3 separate regions of the Homo sapiens genome follow, and all the other regions are linked to region 2. Evidence: promoter capture Hi-C in 16 types of primary human blood cells and fetal thymus (Javierre and others, 2016). All regions are on one chromosome and are shown on one strand. Each heading gives the region's core, a stretch centred on a gene start or on the middle of the fragment in contact. The rest is flanking DNA. Distances are from core to core; before and after follow the strand shown. Region 1 holds the start of RPL7 (ribosomal protein L7). Region 2 holds the start of NCOA2 (nuclear receptor coactivator 2). Region 3 overlaps TERF1 (telomeric repeat binding factor 1).

Region 1 (4,250 bases), core at 1,736-4,235, 2.9 Mb after region 2:
TTGAGAGCAGGTACTGTTTATTAACCAACCAGCTTAGAAAAATAATCATGGTAGACACCTGAAAGGAAAAAAGAAAACCATTAGAAAACACTTTAGGCAGCTAACAATTAACATAAACTAGGCAGTTATAAAGTAATGATTGAGTTTACATTTTTAAGACCACCCAATTTCCATCTTTAAAGACTCCCCAAAACAGGCTTTTCCTTTCCTCCAGAAAGGTCCTCAAAAGCAGTAAACAAACCAACTGTAATCATTAAGATAGTTGACCCCCACTCCCCACAAAAGCACTGATTAAAATTCAAACCCCCATCAATATTTAATGGGAAAAGTATTCAAGATTACCACCACTTATACTCTAACATTAACTCAACCTTTCTCAGGATGAGGTCTCTCACCTTAGTTCATTCTTCTAATAAGCCTGTTGATCTGGTCCTCCCTGTTGCCAGCATCTCCACCTTCTACAAAATGGGTGGTCTTTTTCTTCATTCCACCTCGTGGAGAAGACAATTTGAAGGGCCACAGGAAGTTATTTGCCTCTTTGAAGCGTTTTCCAACAGTATAGATCTCATGAATCAAATCCTCCATGCAGATGATGCCGTATTTACCTAAATATTTTAAGGTTATTTAAGATTATTAAAGTTGCAAAAAGTTTTGAAATAATTATTCAAAATCTTTTTGAATAGGCTGTGAGATGAAAACATAACCAGGAATAAACAAGGTAAATGCATGGCTTTACAAAGATAAGGTTCAAGCTAATGAAACCATGTCTTACGTTTTCTTTTAAGCTAAATCAAGAATCATAGGGAACACATGAAGATTCACAATAGTGAGAAATGTACGGCCACAAGAGGGTAAGAAATTATCGCATGGTCTAATACCAAATTTTCCCCCAAATAGAACCTACCAAGAGATCGAGCAATCAAAGCGTTATCTGTCAAAGCAATTCGCTTCTTATTGATTTTGCCATAACCACGCTTGTAGATTAGTTCATTTACTGACTTCAGATTGGGGTACCTGAAGTGAAAAAGCAAACATAAATAAGGTGACCACTGTTAAAACATCTAAAATTCATGTTGCTACATAACCAATTTATCAAATAGAAATCAAAGGAGAAAAGAGACTTACCCCCATGCAATATATGGCTCTACAATCCTCAGCATGTTAATCGAAGCCTTGTTGAGCTTCACAAAGGTTCCATTGAAGATTTGACGAAGGCGAAGAAGCTGCAACACCTTTCGAACCTTTGGGCTCACTCCATTGATACTGTGGTGAAAACGGACCAGAAATGCATTTGCCTTTCATCGAAATTTTTATTAATACTAACCATTATAGTTTTGAATATCGAATCCTACCTAAACAGATAGGAATCCTCTCATGTTACACACTGAATTTCTGTATTCTATTAAGAGAAGGGATAGGAGCTTGGGGAACATGGCTTGCAACTAAACCATTAGTGATCAGCACCCTCCTTGTTCTAGCTTCCCCTAAAATATTGTTACTCCGGTGTTTCAGAATCAGGGCTCCCAGAAGTAATGTGAAGGTTTTTTTTTTTTTTCCCATTCAAACCCGAATGCAGTAAAACTGAACTTACCCTCTGATTCTGATGACAAACGCCAATTTGGGTTCTGCAGGTACATAGAAGTTGCCAGCTTTTCTTGCCATCCTCGCCATTCGAATTTCAGTTCTGTACATCTGCCTATATTCCTTGTGATAGTGCTTTGCTTTTTCATAGATAAGCTTCCTCCTTGCCTTTCGAAGCTGAAAACCAATAATCAGTTATTCATAATTTTTAGCTCAATCACAATTAGCAATGCCAATCATTAAAAAGAAAACTACAACATGTTTCCTTTAAATCTTTTCTTGCCACAGTATGCAATTACATCCCCCACCAAAAAACCCCACTACCTTCAGATTGTAACATTAGGTAGCTAAGCAATTACTCAGTACAGTTAGGAAGTAAATCTTGCCAAGAACATTCACCTCATCCTCAATCCCAATAAGGCGCCTCCTTATGTGCTAGTGCCTCAAAAAGTTTACTTACCATCTTTTGGGCAAACTTCTTTCTCAGGCGCTTGATCTTCAGCTCTGCGAAATTCCTTCGCTTTTTCTTAAGGGTTTCTGGCACAGCAGGAACCTCCTTCTTCTTCTCTCTAACGTTAATAAACAAAAATGTTATCAATAGCTCAAAAAGCTCACAGCGCTGTATTACTCCCGTACTGAGCAGTGTTGTTTACCAGAAATGCTGTCACTGACTTTAGTCACTAGTAACTTTACTTGCTCTGGCATGCTACAGTGTACGATGCATATTTTAGCTCCATGTCAATAACCTTTAACACCATGTTGCCTAAAACGCAATCACAAATATGACAATAGCAATACGTTTTTCCCTATTTCAACCAAGAGGCCCGGCCTCCGACGACTAATTAAAAAAAAAAACAAAAAAAACACACCAACACCCGAATAACAAAATGTACTAGCTGAAAGACTACTGCAAGGCACTGACCCCGAGACTTTAAGCGCAAAAATTAAAAAATAAAAATAAAAAAAAAACAAGCCACCACCACTCTGGTTCAATCAGGATCCACATGTTGAAAGCAAAGGCCTGGCGGCAGGGAGGCCTGTACCAAGCACCAGCCAAGGACGAACACAATTCAGAGGTTCTGCGCCTCCCCCGAAAGACCCTCTACCGAGGACTGGGCCGTCAGCCAACCGACGGGTTCCACACACATTCCAACCCGACATCTCGTTCCCGGGATCTCCAAAACCTCCGTCCTAAGACCGCCCGCATCCCAACCCTAGCCTCAGGTCCCCACTGGTGTCACACAGCGTTCACAATCAAGCAGGGAGGTGGGCAAAGGTGCAAGCTACGGCCAGAGAGAGAAAAAGTGACACAAAAAGTATCTGGCTCTGGAGATGGAGAAGGATTCTCAAGAGGACCAGAAGCAACTCACTCTACACCCTCCATGGTTCCAGCCGGAAAAAGAGGAAGTTGGCGCATGCGTACTGTCCACTTAAAGACTTCGCGAGAGAAGCCCCACGACTCATAGGTGTCTTAGAATAAGCCGGAAAAGAATCCAGAACTAAAAAGCCGCCTTGCAGACGCAAAGAACTCCCTGATTTAGCCTCTTTCAACAAACTTTCGGGTAAAACTTGTTTGAAGAAAATATATGCATTTGATTAGACTTTTTAATCAATTCAAGAGCAAAGAGTGCTGACACCTTGGCAACTCCGGGTCCTAATCCCCAGGCTGCGCTGACAGGATTAGGCTCCGTTCCTCCCCATAATGTTCCCAGGACGAGCCTCATGGGGACGAACTACAAATCCCAGCATGCACCAGTCTTCGCCCGCCCGGCGGGAGGGCAACGGCTGACCAGGACCGCAGGCAAGCACCGCGGCGACGGTTCCAGCCAGGAAAATGAGAGCCTCTTGGGCCACGTTCCAAACGGCTAGCTGCAATTCGAAGTCACTTTTGGCCGCCCTCCCGGCTCCCTGCCGCGGTAGTCGCAGACTACACCCCTTTCGCCGCTCCGCGAGGTCCTTGTCGTCGCTCCAGCCCACAGGGCTGTCTTCCGCAGCGCCTGATCGCAGGCGGGGCGGTCTGGAGTGCTCTAGCTTACGAAAAGTGGCTAGCCAGGGACCAGTGGGGACCGGACGGCCGGAGGAGGATGGCCGGGGCTCTGCTGACTGCCGAGCTCGGCAGGCGGAGGCCAGGACACCCCACGGGAGGGGGCGTGAGCTGCGAAGGGAGGTGCGAGGAGGGCTGAGGTTGCGGCCACGGCCGTGTGAGAGGGGCTACCCGGCTCGGCTCCGCGGACGGCTGGCGGGCTGGGGGCTGGGCCGGGGGCGGGGTGCGCCCGGGGGCGGGGAGGCCGGGCGGAGGGAGGGCCGATGCCGAGGCTGGCGCGGGCTCTTCCCGGTCGCGGGGTTATATAGCGCGGAGCGTGGAGCCCGCTCAGAGCCGGCCCGGAGCGCTCTGACTTGCAAGCGGGCTGCGCTGCGGAGCCCAGTGCCCGAGTGACACCCGCGGAGAGTGCAGGGCCGGGGAACGCGAGCCCTCGGGGGCAGCTGCAAGGCGTTGGGCAGCGCTTGCCTGCGCCGAGCGAGTCTCCCCTTCCCGGCGCTCCGCCGCCCCGCACCCCACTCTCCCACCCTCTCGCAACTTGGGTCGAGTTGACAACTCCCGCGGCAGCCCGCTGGCCCGTGCCGCCTCCGCTGCGCACCCCTCCCCCGGGGTGAGAGGGAGCCGGCGC
Region 2 (4,668 bases), core at 1,490-3,989:
CTCACCAACAAAGAACAGGAACACACACACACATACACACACACACACGCGCACACACACATGCTTTGTAGCAGCTGCTTTCTTTTTAAAAGACTGCTATTCCTGCAGAGCAACCTGTGATCTTTACAGAGAATCAAAGACCTCTGTTCCTAAAAGTCAAGAGTTGAGAAAGTCACTTGACTGAACGCGCAATAAACAGTTAAAACCAAAGATGTCTCCAAACCTTGTATAAACCAGAAAAGTACCCACACACTGTACAATTCAGCAGTGTTTAAGAAAATTAAAATTATTTTTAAGAATCTTTTGTGTGGGAGTAATCTGGCAAACTACATTTTACTCAGACTTTTTCCTGTAGACAAATATTCTTTGATTAGCTTTGCTCCTTAAATACCCACACTTAATGTTTCAATCAGTGATGCTTTAGTTCCCAACTTCATTTTGTTTGCAAAAAGAAAAAAAAATGCATACCATAAACCACAACTTTTTTTTTTAATGACATCCCCAATGCCGAAGTTTCAAGTACACTTTGGGAACTGGAGCTCTAATTAAACAAGAAACCAGTGAAGCCATTATGAACAATGATGCTTTCTACTACCAATAATCAGTTGACGTGATACTGCTCCCATGCCTTCATTCTCAGGGTTCCCTTTCAAATTTCATTGTCCCCATTCTGGCATAGCTGAGTGAAACCGAGATAAGAGGTAAACGGGTAACTTCTGTCTTCTGTGACCCTTAGCATGTAAACCGGACGCTGAGGTCCAGGACATGATCACTACAGCATATGCCATTTTAGAAACCGGCCTCGGTGAGTTACTGCCACATCCTAAAGTGGCTTTAGACTTCGTCGTGTCTAAGACAACGTCTATTTCGGTACGAAAGACATACAGGACCTCGAGTGCCTCGGCAGCCTCTGCGGGTCGGAGCCCCTATAAGTGACACAACCCCAGAAATCAAGGAGCGGGTGACTCGGGGATGGACAAGAGTAGCTGGCTCTCAGCGTCTCCATGACTCCCCCGCCCCGCATGCAACTCTGCTCTAACTGGTCAGGAGAAACCCCGCCCCCTTCCTTCCTCCGGTCCGCACGATTGGCTCACCGACACCCGGCAGGTCAGCTCCCTGCCTTCGATTGGCTCACTGCCCCATCAGTCAGACGCACCGAGATTCGGGTCGGTGGGAGGGGAAGGCGTCGGAGGAGGTGGAGAGGGAGTGGGATTAGAGGACGAGGTGGCGGAGGAAGGTGTTCAGGCTCGGTCTCTGGTTTGGGAAAGTTTCCCCTACCAGTGACGGACCCAGAACGCGGGAGGCCCAGTCCAGCTCCGGGCCAGCGGAAGGGGGCTCCAGTCCCCGATTCCCGCCCCTCGGTCCCGCAGGCCCCGGAAACCACTAGAGGGAGGGGAAGAGGGAGGGGCCATCTAACCAGGGACCGACCCACCCCCGGTCTCGGAAGAGGCGCCTCTGGGACTCCCCCGAGGGGAGGAGGCGGGGAGCGCAGCCGGCAGCGACGACCCCGGCCCCCTCCCCCAGCACCCCCCAGGGGCCCGAGAGGGCCGGGTCCCCGTGCCCGGGGCGTGACCGTCGCGAGGCGGCCACAGGGCCCCTCCCGCTTCCCGCCTGGGGCCCCGAGGGCCTGTCCCTTCAGGGGCGGAGAGAAGGGGGCGAGAAAAGGGGGCGCTGGCGAGCCAACCCGGAACCTCCCGGTCCGCCTCCCGCCCCCGGCCCCGGCCCCAGCGCGCCTCCTGCATACACGCCCGCACCCAGAAAGTTCAGTCAGGGGCGAGCCCGGCTCGGCGCCGCCGGGGCCCGGCCCCCGGCTCCCCGCCCCCACCACGGCCCGGCCTGCTCGGCCCCAGCGCGCCGCCCGCCCCGCCCGCCGCAGCTCCTTCCCGTCCGCCCGCGGTGCTCGGCGCCCCTCGCCCCCCACCCCCGGGGCTGACACGGGCCCGGGCCACCCGCCGGGCCGCGGCTCCCCTTCCCCGCCCCGCGCTGCAGCTCGCCGGCCGCCCCGACACCCCGCTTCACCTTCACACACCCCCAGCACTTCCCGAGTCCTGCCTCCCCTCGCCCGGCTCCCACTCTCCGCTGCAGCCGCTCCGCGCTTCCATTAAAGAATGCACCTTCCCAGGATTCACCTTCTCGGCTCTGCCGCGCTGCCCCCGAGGGGTTAGAGCCTCGGTCTCCGCCGACCCCGCACCGGGCTGGGCAATGGGCACTCGCTCCTCGGGGCGGGGGCCGCGCCCGCACCCCCGGCCGCGCCTCGGCGCTCACCTCTCGCCCGCGCCGCGGGCTGCAGCCTCCGCCCGCCTCGCGCTCCGGGACTCGTCTCCTGAGCTCTCGCAAGGCGCTGGAGCGCCTCCTTTCTCTCCCGGGGACTCCGCGTCTCCCCGTCGCTTCCCGCCCTCCCCACCCCCAAGCCCCAACTCCCCAGCGTCGCTGCGCCTCCGGGATGCAACTCCCGTTTTCCGCGCACTCCGGCGGCGGTCCCCGCACACAAAAACAGCCTCTCGGAGGCGCACGGCTCTGTCGGAGCTCGGCGCAGGAAGGGCAGTCGCGGCCGGGGGTGGGGACGCGGCGCCCCCCGCCTGCCGCCCGCCCCCCGCCCGCCCTCGCGGCCCCGGGGGAAGGCGCGGTTACCGGCTCGGGTCGGTCACGCCGTCAGGTGCCGGCTGCCGTCGGCGCTGACCTTCGCCGCCGAAGCTGTAGCCGAGGCTGCGGCCGCCATGTTCCCGTGTTAATAACTGCTGCCTGGTTGTTTATTTCAATGGAGATCCTCCCCCAACTCCCTCCTCCTCCTCCTCCTCCTCCTCCTCCTCCGCGTCTCCGCACTTGCGGAGAGACAGACAGCGCGAGCTCGCGAGCAGGGGAGGGGGCTCGGGAGCCAGGCCGTCCCTCCCTCTGCCTCCCCGGCAGTGGCCGCCGCCAAGTCCTGTCACCGGGAAAAGGACGGGGCGGAAACTTGCCTCTCGCGCCCCCGAGGAAGGGGCAAAGGTGGACGCAGGGTTGTCCGGGGAGCAGCCCCTGGCCGCGGGGTCCGCAGCATCTCCGTCGGCAGAGTCCTCTGAGAAGGCGGCCCGGGGAGAGGTGAAGAAGAGTAAGGGGACAGGGGACAAAATGGGTGACTGTGGTAGAGGGAGGGTGACCTAGAGGTGACTGGAACTGAAGAGAGAGTCAACAGAGGACTGCATGGGAGGGCAAAGGGCAATGCCAAAAAGAAAACTAGCGACTGGGACGGGCCTGGGCCGCTGAGTTAGAGGCAGTGGGGCCTGGGGGCTGCAGACGGCAGGGACGGTGCCCCAGGACGAAGATCGGGGAGAGCCGAGTTCCAGGGTCGCCAGCAGAGGACCCTCGCGCCCGTCCGGCCGGACCCTTCGGCCAGCACCCTGCACCCCCTCGGGCGCACCTCACCCTACCCAACTCCCGGTCCTGCCGCTGCTCCCCGGAGGCGCCCCGCATCCGTCAAGTCCCCTACGGCTCCAACAGGGAGAGGCTTCTCCCATTGCAGTCCTAGCTCCAGAGGGGATGGAGAGGCGCGACTGTGGGAGCTGGAAGGGGCACCACCCGGCAATTGCGGGATAAAGCAAATGCTGCACACAGAGTGTGAAACTTAACCTGGTTGAGAATTTTCGGCACATCATGAAATCATAAGTTTGTATTGGAAAGTCCATTCTCTAGACATCCGTGAACAAAGTACTGAGGGGACGTAGGAGATTGGCACTGAAAATGCGAGAACCCCCATTTAAGTGTTACTTAGACCAATCTGTTTTACGCTTTGGAAAAGCAAGTTTTTTTTCCAACTTATACGGTAATTAGTTGAAAAAAAAAACTTTTGTTTAATGGCAGTTATCAAACTATGAGAGGAACATATTCCCTGATTTTAATCTTATAATGAGAAAGGTCACTTGCGGTAGACAATAAGAGTGTTTATTGAACACTTACTGTGAATCTGACTGTGCTAGGTGATGTATATATGCTATAGGCCTTAATCCTCAAACCTTCCGAAGTCATTGCCGCTTTTCACTTCACACAAAAAATTGAAGCTTAAAGTAATTTGCCCAGGGTCACAGCCAGTAGTTGGAGAGGATGTGAGCCCAGTTCTGGTGAGCTCCAAAGCCCATGCTTTTAAACATGTCTTCATCCTAAAATTTGTGGGTGTACCGCCAATTTTATTTGGGAAAAGAATAAAAAAAATGTGTGGGGTGTGTGTGTCTGTGTTTGTTTGTGGATAGAAAATGCTTGGAAGCCTATAACAACAAATGTTAGCGCTGGGGAGTGTAAGAAGTGGGTGATGAGGCACTTCCACTTTTTATTTTGCACACCTATCTAATGTTTGAAATGTTTGCATTGACTATGTATTAATGTATATTTTTAAAGGTTTTTTTTTTTTTTTTTTTTTTTTTTTTTTAGCTAGCTGGAATAATAGAATTATGTTCCCAAAGCGTTGAGAGGAAATGGAGAGTTTGTTTATGGCCTATCTTCTGCTAATACCAGTCTGTAGCTTGTCTACAATGGGGTAGTAGTCACCTGAGGTTTGTCACAATTCTGAACTCCCGATTTGCTTTCCTGTCCTCACCCCCAACTGTGAGTTATCAGGAGTTGTGATAATAAATAAATAAATAAATAAAAATTTAAAAAAAAGATTCTCCTTCTTGCTTGCTATCCCTCCCATTTTGG
Region 3 (4,527 bases), core at 1,104-3,603, 2.6 Mb after region 2:
TTTACTTTCTTATCATTTATGTGTTCAGTGGATTAGAACTTTTAATTTCCTTTGAGAACTTTTCCTTTGTATTAACAACTTGGCTGTTAGACACAAGAGGCCTATGTTTCAGCCTATCATGGCATTTGACATCCTTTCCTCACTAAGCTTAATCATTTCTAGCTTTTGATTTAAAGTGAATGACTTGCAACTCTTCCTTTCACTGAAACACTTGGAGGGCATGTAGAGTTACTCATTGGCCTAATTTCAATCTTGTTGTGTTTCAGGAGATAAGGAGGCCTGAAGAGAGGGAGTAAGGGGAAGGGCTGGTCAGTGGAGCAGTTAGAACACACACAATATTTATGGAATAAGTTTGTGTCTTATGGGCATGATTTGTGGTACTCCAGAACCTTTACAATAGTAACATCAGAGATTATTGATCACAGACCACCATACAGATATAATAATAATGAAAAAGTTTGAAATATTGCAAGAATTATCAAAATGTGACAGGTACAGGTACTGTTAGAAAAATGAGCCAGACGCGGTGGCTCATGCCTGTAATCCCAGCACTTTGGGAGGCTGAGGCGGGCAGATCACGAGGTCAGGAGATCGAGACCATCCTGGCTAACATGGTGAAACCCCGTCTCTACTAAAAAAATACAAAAAAAATTAGCCAGCCTTGGTGGTGGGCGCCTGTAGTCCCAGCTATGCGGGAGGCTGAGGCAGAAGAATGGCATGAACCTGGGAGGCGGAGCTTGCAGTGAGTGGAGATGCACCATTGCACTCCAGCCTGGGCGACAGAGCGTGACTCTGTCTCAAAAAAAAAAAAAGGTGCCGTTAGACTTGGCTCAAGCTGGGCTGCGGTAAACTTTCAATTTGTAAAAAACATGCAATCTGCAAAGCACAATAAAATGAGGTATGTCTGCACCTATCCTTCGTGGTACTCATTAAAATTTTAATTAGTTACTTACATAACTTTTTGTTTAATTGTGTCTTCTCAGATTAAAACCTTCATGGGGGCAGAGACTGGCTATCTGAAGTCATCACCTCCTAACACAGGCTGGCAGTAGATGTTCAGTAAATATTGAATGGCTTGTGTTTAAATTCTATATAAATTTTGTGCTCTCTTAAAATCCTGTTAAATTCTATTATGACTGTGTATGGTCCAGATAATCTCTGGTGTAGCATAAGATTATGTTAGAATTGAGGGAGGAAATTGGGTAAAAATATATTCGTCTTATATGCTTAATTGCTACAGAATTGCTTTTCAGTTTGCTAGTTATTTAAGTTTTTTATATATACACCAACCAAGCCCTGGGTTAGGTATAATGGTAGTAGTGGCACCTTCAGGTCTTAGGTTAGACATTATTTCCTCAGAGAAGCCTTCCCTGACACCTCCTCTGTGCAGAAGATACTTAAACACACAGATTTCTTGTTATATGCTTCCAAAGCATTCTGTACTTGTCTTTTTAAAGTTTTCACAACATTTTTACTTCAGTAGTTCAATCGCTTGTCTCATTGCTACATGGTAAAAAGCTCACTGTGGTCCAGGAGTATGGCTTACTTGGTATTGTATGTAATCACTGCCTGACTCAACATCTGGGTGGGCATTCAAGTTTGGGGAGGTTAATATTAATAGGTTTTAAACTTTGTAAGCTAAACAGACTCACTTAACTGAAACCTAGATAGAAATAATATAAAATATTTTCTATTATATGAAATGTTTCTAGGTATAAGTTTCCAACCAATGATTTTACACATTTTACAATTTGTATCTAAATCTTTTTTGTTAATGTAGACTGCTACTTGTGAAAGAATTTTCAACAATTTTTATTCTACATGTGAAAGTTATATTTTGTAAGAAATGTCTTCATTGCTATTCTTTTTTTTTGTTCTGAATTTTAATCAGATCTTAAATGTACAACTCTAAATTTATGATAATTTTTACAATATGTTTGTAGCCTATTACTCAACAAACCACACAGTGGCACTACTGGATCAAGTTTGATTTTAATAAAATTTACTTTTTTTCTTTTTTAGCTATTATTCATGGACTATCCAGTCTAACAGCTTGCCAGTTGAGAACGATATACATATGTCAGTTTTTGACAAGAATTGCAGCAGGAAAAACCCTTGGTAAATATGTTTTTTTATTTTATATTGGAAATATTTCAATCTGTTTCTAATGTAAGACAATGGGAAGAAACAGACGTTTTTGGGGGAAGTTTGCCTACAAGTGTCTGGTGCATAGGGGTGTGGGGGGGTGGTGTGTGTGTGTGTGTACACATACAGTCATATCTAAAGCAAGTAAAAGAAATGTAGTCCCTGTCATCTTAGAACATTGGTTCTCAAACTTTAGCCTGCTCCAGAATTACTTAAAGGGCTTATTAAAAAAAAAAAAACATAGTGCTGAGTCTCCCTAACTCTCATGAGTTTCAGATTCAGTAGGATGGGTATGGGGCTCTGAAATATACATTTCTAATAAATTCCCAGGTGATTCTGATGCTACTCTTGGGGAAGTGTGTTTCATTGACTCTATTTGCTAACTTTGTGGTGACTCCAATCATACACACTCTGTTTTTACTGGCAACTATTATATTTGAAACCTTTTATTTGAACTTGATGCCAGCGCTTACGTAAGAAGTACAGTTTATAGCTGTAATCTCTCTCCCTTGTCTCTGTAGTTCCATTTTAGATTGTAATGGGCAAGGCTGATTCAGTTTATCAGTAATGGCTGGTATTTACAACATGGTCATTTTAAAAGGCTATTTGATGGAAATAATTTTGTATTTAGATTGGTTTTTATAATTTACAAAATACTTTTCCAACAATCCTGAGTAGTGGGCAGTACTTACATAAAACTGCTTGCTTATTGAAGTGTTGTCTTACATAAAATCCCAGTGTATTAGCACCACTGTCAAGGCCTTCACTAAAGTATCTCTGGCTGATGTAGTCTGCTTTGTTTGGGGGGTGAGGGTAGGTCTGGAGTTGGTGCCAGGACCATAAATGGATAGAACTAGATAGAGGCAGAATAGTTGTGAAAGAGACAGAGCCATAGGTAGGCCTGGGCCAGTTGCTGGAGAAGTAGCAGGCTGGAGCAGAATTCCAGACCATGCAGACTATAAGTTGACACTGTTGTTAACAGGGTTGTTTTCTACATTAAGGTGGAAAAGTATTCTAAAGTGCCTGGCAGTGCTTTACACATAGCAGTTGTTCAGCACATCTTAGTTGCTTCCTGGATAACCTTTTCTCCAAAAAAGGCAGGGGGGAATCCAGATTTTATGTGTGATCTCATGGTTTAATCTTGGAATTTACCAGGATACTCTTTTGGATATATCCTAGATATAATAGGCCAGGGTCAGCTGTCAAGAATCAATGTATTTCACCATAATGCACTAAACTGAGGCAGCATTTAAAATTTTATGTATTGGATTTTTGGCTATACATAACCCTTTTGCTTTTTTTTTTTTTTTTTTAATTTTGCTCTATAGTGGCACTGCCTAATAGAGATATGTGAGCCACATGTCTAATTTAAAATTTTCTAATAGCTATGTTAAGAAAAGTAGGCCAGGCATAGTGACTCACACCTGTAATCCCAGTACTTTGGGAGGCCTAGACAGGAGGATCGCTTGAGCCTAAGAATTTGACACCAGCCTAGGCAACATAGCGAGACCCTGTCTCTACAAAAAATTTAAAAAATTGGCTGGGCGTGGTGATTCACGCCTGTAATCCCAGCACTTTGGGAGGCCGAGGTGAGCGGATCACGAGGCCAGGCAATAAAGACCATCCTTGCTAACGTGGTGAAACCCCGTCTCTACTAAAAATACAAAAAAAAATAAAAATAAAAAGTTAACCACGTGTGGTCCTCTGGAGACTGAGGTAGGATCGTTTGAGCCCAGGAGGTTGAGGCTGTGGTTAGCTGTGATTGTGCCACTTCACTTCAGCCTGAGTGACAGAATGAAATCCTGTCATGAAATTTAGAAATTCCCATTCCAGCAGGTGTAGCTAAAAAATAATAATGATAATTAAAATAGGTGGAATTAATTTTGATAATCTTATTTAACTCAATATTTCTCAAACACTATGTCAACAAGTAGTCAGTGTAAAAAATGTTAGTAAGGCCAGGCACATGGCTCACACCTGTAATCCCAGCTCTGGGAGGCTGAGGTGGGTGGATCACTTGAGCCCACGAGTTTAAGGCTGCAGTGAGCTATGATCACACCACTGCACCCCAACCTGGGCAGCACAGCAAGGCCCCCATCTCTTAAAAAAAATCAAATGAGATATTTTACCTTTTTTTGGAGTAAGTCTTTGAAATCTCATGTGTACTTTATACTTAAGGTGCATCTCAATTCAAACTAGCCATATTTTAGCTGTGCAGTAATCATGTATGGCTAGTAGCTGTGCAGTAATCATGTATGGCTAGTAGCTACCATATTGGGTTTAGTCTCCTACCCCACATAGGTTTGACAAGATTGGACATGTTTGGGGTGATGTGGCTGTAGACCCCCACGTAGCTCTGAAATACAGCAGATATCTTAAAGG

Evidence for each region. Contacts are between HindIII fragments. The CHiCAGO score rates a contact against its expected background, and 5 or more counts as called.
Region 1: a contact is called between the fragment with the promoter of RPL7 here and the fragment with the promoter of NCOA2 in region 2, in 9 of 17 cell types (naive CD8 T cells, total CD4 T cells, activated CD4 T cells and 6 more). The highest score is 13.4, in naive CD8 T cells.
Region 3: a fragment that was not itself captured here is called in contact with the fragment with the promoter of NCOA2 in region 2 in 1 of 17 cell types (naive CD8 T cells); the score reaches 5.2 in naive CD8 T cells.

The regions. Positions count from the first base shown.
Region 1 is chr8:73,290,648-73,294,897 of GRCh38, forward strand. RPL7 (ribosomal protein L7) reads right to left here and starts at 2,986. Exons shown (of 7, transcript NM_000971.4): 1 at 2,952-2,986; 2 at 2,042-2,150; 3 at 1,592-1,758; 4 at 1,126-1,263; 5 at 905-1,014; 6 at 396-605; 7 at 1-58. The coding sequence starts at 2,965. The coding sequence ends at 397. It overlaps RDH10 (retinol dehydrogenase 10), which reads left to right and starts at 3,955. Exons shown (of 6, transcript NM_172037.5): 1 at 3,955-4,250. RefSeq lists enhancers at 2,238-2,946, 2,568-2,617, 2,628-2,987, 2,947-3,654, 3,108-3,597 and a silencer at 3,688-4,250. The HindIII fragment of the contact is 6,100 bases long and covers 1,736-4,250 here.
Region 2 is chr8:70,401,069-70,405,736 of GRCh38, forward strand. It overlaps NCOA2 (nuclear receptor coactivator 2), which reads right to left and starts at 2,740. Exons shown (of 23, transcript NM_006540.4): 1 at 2,632-2,740. RefSeq lists silencers at 1,337-1,996, 2,027-2,316, 2,357-2,666, 3,357-3,516 and an enhancer at 3,137-3,256. The HindIII fragment of the contact is 4,231 bases long and covers 1-4,032 here.
Region 3 is chr8:73,011,873-73,016,399 of GRCh38, forward strand. It overlaps TERF1 (telomeric repeat binding factor 1), which reads left to right. Exons shown (of 10, transcript NM_017489.3): 2 at 2,023-2,118. Among named protein-coding and RNA genes, the nearest start is that of TERF1, 5.3 kb to the left of the region's middle. The HindIII fragment of the contact is 4,417 bases long and covers 146-4,527 here.